Linked DNA regions of Homo sapiens: region 1 is linked to region 2. Evidence: promoter capture Hi-C in 16 types of primary human blood cells and fetal thymus (Javierre and others, 2016). All regions are on one chromosome and are shown on one strand. Each heading gives the region's core, a stretch centred on a gene start or on the middle of the fragment in contact. The rest is flanking DNA. Distances are from core to core; before and after follow the strand shown.

Region 1 (4,079 bases), core at 1,514-4,013, 44 kb after region 2:
CAGGTGGATTGCCTGAGGTCAGGAGTTGGAGATCAGCCCGGCCAACATAGTGAAACCCTGTCTCTACTAAAAATATAAAATTAGCTGGGTGTGGTGGCGGGCGCCTGTAATCACAGTTACTAGGGAGGCTGAGGCAGGAGAACTGCTTGAACCCGGGAGGCAGAGGTTGCAGTGAGCCGAGATCGCGCCATTGCACTCCAGCCTGGGCAACAAGAGCAAAACTCCGTCTCAATAAATAAATAAAATAAAAATAACATTAACTATGGCCTATCTGTTGAACTGATTTCAGATTTCAAGGAAAATTGCGGCGTTATGGATAGGGTAGGGGAAAGTAATATGGACATTTAGAGAAACAAGGTAACCTGAAAAATGTAACCTTGGAGATTTTAAGGAATCTTGCAAAATGTGGTCTTTATTAATGTGGTAGGGAGGTGTACAGGCACACACCTGACACGTGTTCCTGGAGTACATGCACTTTGCTGGGCCCCAGTCAAGGTCTTAGAAACACCGCTGTGAATCAAGACAGAAACTCTGTCTGCTCTCACAGGGTTTATATTTTATTGGGGGAGAAAGGCCAAGTACCCAGACATTTCCAGTCCCGTGTGGTGAAGGTCAGGGGACTGTGGACACCAATCCTGCACTTCAGGTGTCAGGAAAAATTTCCTGAGAGAAATGGTATCAGCCATGGATTGAATGTTTGTGTATCTCCCCCTCCCAATTCATATATTGAAACCCTAATCCTCAATGTTATGGTATTTGGAGGTGGGGCCTCTGGGACGTAATTAGGTCATGAAAGTGGAACTCTCAAGAATGAGCTACTAATCTCACCAAACCTCTTATAATCTGCCCTTATAAGAAGAGGCCAGATTGGGCGGGGCATAGTGGCTAACACCTGTAATCTTAGCCCTTTGGAGGCTGAGGTGGGAGGATTGAGCACAGGCGTTCGAGACCAACCTGGGCAACATGGCAAAAACCCCATCTCTCTCAAAAAAGATACAAAAATTTGCTGGGTGTGCTGGCATGTGCCTGTAGTCCCAGCAACTAGGGAGGCTGAGGTGGGAAGATCACTTGAGCCTGGGGAGGCGGAGGCTGCAGTGAGCAGTGATCAAGCCGCTGCACTCCAGCCTGGGCAACACAGTGAGAACTTGAGATCAGGAGTTCCAGACCAGCCTGACCAACATGGTGAAACCTCATCTCTACTAAAAAAAATACAAAATTAGCCGGGCGTGGTGATGCGTGCCTGTAATCACAGCTAATTGAGAGGCTGAGGCAGGAGAATCACTCGAACCCGGGAGGCGGAAGTTGCAGTGAGCTGAGATCGAGCCATTGCACTCCAGCCTGGGCAACAAGAGTGAAACTCTGTCTCAAAACAAACAAAAACAAACAAACAAAAAAGGATCTCTGATCACAAAGCTTTTGTTTAAGAATTTATTGCTTGATGATATCATGTCATAAATTATTTATTTATTTATTTATTTTCTTTTTCTTTTTTTTTGAGATGGATTCACTCTGTCACCCAGGCTGGAGTGCAGTGGCACAATCTGGGCTCTCTGCAACTTCTGCCACCTGGGTTCAAGCAATTCTCCTGCCTCAGCCTCCCAAGTAGCTGAGATTACAGGCATGCGCCACCACGCCCAGCTAATTTTTGTATTATTAGTAGAGACGGGGTTTCCCTATGTTCGCCAGGCTGGTCTCCAACTCCTGACCTCAAGTGATCTGCCCGCCTCGGACTCCCAAAGCGTTGGGATTACAGGCGTGCGCCACCATTCCGACCCATAAATTATTAAAACAAAAAAAAAGAATTGCTTAAGCAGGGCTGGGCATGGTGGCTCACATCTGTAATCCTAGCACTTTAGGAGGCCAAGAGGGGCAGATCACTTGAGGTCAGGAGTTCAAGACCAACCTGGCCAACGTGGTGAAACCCTGTCTCTATTAAAAATACAAAAAATTAGCCGGGCGTGGTGGCAAGCACCTGTAGTCCCAGCTACTCGGGAGGCTGAGGCAGGAGAATCACTGGAACCTGGGAAGCAGAGGTTGCAGTGAGCCAAGATTGAGCCATTGCACTCCAGCCTGGGTGACAGAGTAAGACTCTGACTCAAAAAAAAAAAAAAAAAAAAAGAATTGCTTAAGCAGATCCTGAATTCCAGCAGAACAGCTGACTCCACCAGCTCAAAGACTCCCACAGAAGCCAGGAGCAGTGGCTCACGCCTATAATCCCAATGCCTGTAATCCCAGCACTTTGGGAGGCCAAAGCAGTGGACTGCTTGAGCCCAGGAGTTTGAGACCAGCCCTGGGCAACATGGTAAGACCCTGTCTTTATAAAAAAAAAAATTAAAAATTAGTGGGGCATGGTGGCATGTACCTGTGGTCCCAGCTACTCAAGAGGCTGAGGTAAGAGGATCGCTTGAGCCCATGAGTTTGAGGCTGCAGTGAGCTACGATTGTGCCACTGCACTCCAGCCTGGGTGACAGAGCAAGACCCCGTCTTTCTTTTTCTTTTTTTGAGATGGGGTCTCACTCTGTTGCCAGGCTGGAGTACAGTGGCACGATCTCGGCTCACTGCAACCTCTGCCTTGCGGGTTCACGCGATTCTCCTGCCTCGGTCTCCCGAGTAGCTGAGACTACAGGTGCACACCACCATGACCAGCTAATTTTTGTATTTTTAGTAGAGATGGGGTTTCACCATGTTCGCCAGGATGGTCTCAATCTCTTGAACTCGTGATCCACCCACCTCAGCCTCCCAAAGTGCTGGGATTATAGGCGTGAGCGACTGCGCCAGGCAGACCTCATCTTTCAAATTAAAAAAAATAAAAAAAAAAAAAGACTCCCACAGTGGAACCAAGTGAGCATGAGAATCAGTTTCTTCATCTCCCTGTTTCATGACCTCACCCTGCACTCTTCAATCAATGATTTTCACACTTCATCCTAATCCTATTCCAAACTCTTTTTTAAAAACCCTAGCCCCAAAGTACTCTGGGAGATGGATTTGAGGTTTCCTCCTGTCTCCTTGTTCAGCAGCCCTATGATTAAACCTCTTTCTCTGCTGCAACCTGGTGTCTTGGTGTATTGACCTCCAGTGTGCATCAGGCAACAGAACTATTACAGTTAATACTTTTAGCCTAACATTCAAAGGCCCTCCCCATCTATCCCAAACTACCTATCCAATTTCTGGTCCCACTGCCTCTCAGCGGGACCCTGGCTTTACTCACCAAACTCTGCTGTTCCCCTAGTCTTGCCACTCAGTAAACACTACCATCATCCAATTTGTTGCTCAAGACAAAAACACAGAAGTCATCCTTAATTCTCTTTCCCTCAGACTCTCTAAATCCAATCCACCAGGAAATCTATTTCCAATCATGTCTCAAATCTCTCATCTCTTCATCTCTACTACCTCACTCTAGTTCAAGTAAGCCACCACCATCACTCACCTGGACCAATGCATTAACCTCCTGACCACTGCATAACCACAATTCATTTGTCACACATCAGCATAAAGTGGATTATGGCTTCCCATTACACATGGTATAAATTCCAACTCAGCATCCTGGTTTACCAAGTCTGGCCACTCTCTGGCCTACCTTTCCAACCCTATCTCACACCATTCTCTTTTTCACCCACAATGCACCAACCACACATTAGCTTCTTTTTTATTTCTCTAACTTGCCAAGCTCAGTCCTGGAAGGCATTTTTTTCACCCTGACATATGCATGGCTAGCTCTTGTTATTTAGATTTCTGGTGATTCGCCTTCGTGGAAAAGGCTTCACTAGCCACTCAAGTAGTTACTATCAGATGGCCGGCCCTATTTTAATTTCCTGTAAAGCGCTTATCACTATTGGATGTTTTTATTTTTCGCTCTATATTCCCCACTAGAAAAAAAATCTCTACGTGGGCATGGGATGTTGCTGCTTCGTTTCCATTGAATTACCAAGGCTTAGAACAATACCAGGGCTTGAAACGCAAAAAAATTCTAAAACTTGTGGAATGACTTAATGAACTCTTGATTCTCACCACTCTTCAGCCCCTCCCCAACTTTCAGGACAGTCTTCCTGAAGGCATTTTGTTTATTAAGCCACTTGATT
Region 2 (4,325 bases), core at 1,574-4,073:
ACCCGGGAGGCAGAGGTTGCAGTATGCCAAGATCATGCCATTGTGCTCCAGCCTGGGCGACAACAGCAAAACTCCATCTCAAAAAAAAAAAGAAAGAAAGAAGAAAAAGTTTAGGCCGGGTGCAGTGGCTCATGCCTGTAATACCAGCACTTTGGGAGGCCAAGGCGGGAGGATCACCTGAGGTCAGGAGTTCGAGACCAGCCTGGCTAACATGGTGAAACCCTGTTTCTACTAAAAATACAAAAACAAATTAGCCAGGTGTGGTGGTTCGTGCTTGTAATTCCAGCTACTCAGGAGGCTGAGGCAGGAGAATCGCTTGAACCTGAGAGGTGAAGGTTGCAGTGAACTGAGATTGCAACATTGCACTCTAGCATGGGCAACAAGAACAAAACTCCGTCTCAAATAATAATAATAATAATAATAATAAAGAATTTAAAAAGAAAAACAAAACAATTCTGATACTCCTATACACGTGTCCTGGAATAAACAATTAAGTAAATAGATGGCAAATTATGGAAGCCAGGTTTCTCACAGTTGGGGTGGGAGTTTAGATAAACAAGGGAGGTGGCTAGAATGATCCATGTAGTAATGGATTAAAGTTGGAGACATCAGTATGAATTCATGCTTAGCTTAATATAGATATGGATGGTTATATATGGAAATACATGTTTGTGTATATACGTGGGTTAGTATACACACATATATTTCCTTGCTTTCTCAGATGTGAGGGTCCAGAAGCAATGATACCTCAAAAGCAACAAGCACACCTAGGGCCCAGATCTTGGATTCTAAAACCATTTGCCAATAAAAGAAAATAGGGGTCCTTGGAGAAATGGCTGATTGCAGGACTGTGGCAGGAAATACACAAAATGAGCCTGGAGCATTTTATAGTACCAGAAAGTAAGGTGACACTAAATAAAAACAAGGTTTTAATTAAAATACCAATGATGACAACAACACTGATGGGACTCTTATTTTTCTCCCTGGTTGAGGATTGACCGCCATCATGAATGACTTAGTAACTATCTGAACTAGGAAGTTCATGATCAACTGACTACATACTTCAGGAGGAACAAATGGTTATTGAGGTCCTTCACCCTGGGAAGACAACAGTACCTAAGACAGAAATTCAGGAAAAACTAGCCAAAATGTATGAGACTACACTAGATGTCATCATCTTTGTTTGTTTTTGTTTGTCTTTATGAGATGGAGTCTCCGTCTGTCACCCAGGCTGGAGTGTAGTGGCGCAATCTCGGCTCACTGCAACCTCTGCCTCCTGGGTTCAAGTGATTCTCCTGCCTCAGCCTCCCGAGTAGCTGGGATTACAGGTGCCTGCCACCACACCCGGCTAATTTTTGTAGTTTTAGCAGAGACAGGGTTTCACAATGTTGGCCAGGCTGGTCTCAAACTCCTGACCTCATGTGATCTGCCTGCCTCTGCCTCCCAAAGTGCTGGGATTACAGGCGTGAGCCACCACGCCTGGCCTCATCTTTGTATTTGGATTCAGAACTCATTTTGGTGGTGGCAAGACAACTGGCTTTGGCATGATTTATGATTCACTGGATTATGCAAAGAAAAATAAACCCAAATGCTGACTTCCAAGACATGGCCTGGATGAGAAGAAAAGAACTCAAGAAAGCAATGAAAGGAACACAAGACCAGAATGAAGAAAGGGGGACTGCAAAGGACAGTGTTGGTGTGGCAAAAAGCCAAAGGAGTAAAGATGCTACAGTAACATCTGTGGCCACTGTGGATTTTTCACAAGATTTATAAACTAAAAACTTTTGTGTGCAAAAAAAAATGGATGGGGGTATGCTAAAGAGACACAGGAGCCAACGGAAACAGCTCTCAAAGGCCAAAGCTAGAACGAAATTAGCTAGAAAATAAATATGAAGTATATTGGATTATAACCCAAAGTATAAATGTCCATGAGTCCATACTGATTAAATAAATGGTTGAATAAATAATGGAGGAGTAGAGACAAATATCTCATATGAAAGAACTCCAGGCCAGGGATGGTGGCTCACGCCTGTAATCCCAGCACTTTGGGAGGCTGAGGCGGGTGGATCACGAGGTCAGGAGATCGAGACCATCCTGGCTAACACGGTGGTCTCTATTAAAAATACAAAAAATAAGCCGGGCGTGGTGGCGGGCACCTGTAGTCCCAGCTACTTGGGAGGCTGAGGCAGGAGAATGGCGTGAACCCGGGAGGCGGAGCTCTCAGTGAGCTAAGATCGCGCCACTGCACTCCAGCCTGGGCGACAGAGCGAGACTCCGTCTCAAAAAAAATAAAAAATAAAAATAAAGAGCCTAAGGACTAAGGATTTAATTAACCAAGCACCAACCCGTGCAGCCTCAGGAGACTGGTCCCGCAGCGCAAGTGTGTCCCTCTACCCCCCGCAAGCCGGGCCGCGTCTTCCTGGCTCTCCTGGCGCCGGCACCGAGCAGGGCGTGGACCTGAACTTATGTGACCCCACCCGGTCACAACCCGGGGTAGGAAGCTAAAGCCGTCCGCCCACCCGAGGGGCGGTCCCAGCACCCCAGTGGGGGACTGCTGCGCTCGGCCTCTGTGTTCGATCGGGAACCCAGGTCTCTTCCCTGCCAATAACAAAACCGCCGCGTCCCGGGCCTCCCTTCCGGAGCCGGAGTCGGCGGCCGAGCGCTGGTGGCGGAGCCTGGACAGTTAATTCCAACCGCCTCCGGGTGATTCCGGGGACAGGAGCGCCGAGAGCTCCTCCCTTTGGCCGCGGAGCCGGCTCGGCGCTGATTGGCTGAGGGCCTCGGTTGTGGCTCTTGAAGGCTCCCCATTGGCCCCGCGCTCCAGTGGCAGGAGTGTGGCGGCCCGGCCTCCGCAGGCTACCCGGGGTTGAAGCTACTGCGAGCTCCGGTGGCTGCCTGGGGACGCTCAGGGACGCTCATTCCTGGCCAGAGTCCTGACTTCTTTCTCGGATCGAGATCTCGTTGCTGGCTCGAGGAAATCACCGGCTCTTCTCCCGGATCCTTTTCTTCTCTCACTTGCTGGCTTTCTTCTTCCTGCCTCCCTGGCTTCCATCTCCCAACCCCGCGATTCCCTCCTCTACTCCCGTGCTCCCGTCGCCCGCCATCCTGAGCCATCCCACCTGCAACCTTCTGTCTTTTGCCCCTCCTTGACCTCAGAGGGTCCTGCCTTAAGCTTCTCACCAGAATCTCCTAGATTTCTATCTCTTCCCTGCTTGCCAGCTCTTGACTCCCAAATTCCAGCTGACGTTTGACCACTTGACATTTGACCCTGACACCCTTGACTGCAAATCTAAATTCTTATCTTCTGCAACCTGTACTGCTGAAACAGGCCTTCCCCCTGTCTTCCAACCCCGCTTTCTGACACCCATTTTTACTTTCTTACTCTTGGGTCAGTTCCTGCTACAGCTATCCCACCATGGACTTCTTGATGAGTGGCCTGGCAGCCTGCGGGGCCTGTGTATTCACCAATCCCCTGGAGGTGGTGAAGACCAGGATGCAGTTGCAAGGAGAACTGCAGGCCCCTGGCACATACCAGCGGCACTACCGAAATGTCTTCCATGCCTTCATCACCATCGGCAAGGTGGATGGCCTTGCTGCCCTGCAGAAAGGCCTGGCCCCCGCCCTCTTGTACCAGTTCCTGATGAATGGCATCCGACTGGGCACCTATGGGCTGGCTGAGGCTGGGGGCTACCTGCACACAGCCGAAGGCACCCACAGTCCTGCCCGCAGCGCAGCAGCTGGGGCCATGGCTGGGGTCATGGGAGCCTACTTGGGGAGCCCCATCTACATGGTAAGAAGAGGGCTCTTGCCTGGGACCTTCAGGGCAGATCCTCGTTGTAGGATAGGAGCTGTTCTTTCCCAAGGGCATAGGTGGCAGAGTGCTGCCCCACTGCAAGCAGGGAAAGGCATCAGGAAAGTGCTGGTAGGCTTCGGAGTCTTCTGATCTGCCCTATACACACCCATCTGATGGACACGATTGAATGTATTGATTAAGATTATGGGCTTTGGGGCCGGGTGCAGTGGTTCACACCTGTAATCCCAGCACTTTGGGAGGCCAAGGCGGGCGGATCACGAGGTCAGGAGATGGAGACCATCCTGGCTAACACAGTGAAACCCCGTCTCTACTAAAAATACAAAAAATTAGCCGGGTGCGGTGGTGGGCGCCTGTAGTCCCAGCTACTCGGGAGGCTGAGGCAGGAGAATGGCATGAACCCGGGAGGCGGAGCTTGCAGTGAGCCGAGATCCGGTCACTGCACTCCAGCCTGGGCCACAGAGCAAGGCTACGTCTCACAAAAAAAAAAAAAAAAGATTATGGGCTTTGGAAT

Evidence for each region. The method cuts DNA at HindIII sites, captures the fragments that hold promoters and counts their contacts. A CHiCAGO score of 5 or more calls a contact.
Region 1: a fragment that was not itself captured here is called in contact with the fragment with the promoter of SLC25A35 in region 2 in 12 of 17 cell types (endothelial precursors, naive CD8 T cells, total B cells and 9 more); the score reaches 8.1 in endothelial precursors.

What each region holds. Positions count from the first base shown.
Region 1 is chr17:8,249,708-8,253,786 of GRCh38, reverse strand. The region is part of intron 1 of PFAS (phosphoribosylformylglycinamidine synthase); the gene reads right to left. Among named protein-coding and RNA genes, the nearest start is that of PFAS, 2.5 kb to the right of the region's middle. The HindIII fragment of the contact is 2,695 bases long and covers 1,416-4,079 here.
Region 2 is chr17:8,293,898-8,298,222 of GRCh38, reverse strand. SLC25A35 (solute carrier family 25 member 35) reads left to right here and starts at 2,823. Exons shown (of 5, transcript NM_001320870.2): 1 at 2,823-3,790. The coding sequence starts at 3,416. RefSeq lists enhancers at 2,204-2,333, 2,954-3,003, 3,024-3,103. The HindIII fragment of the contact is 5,205 bases long and covers 1-3,174 here.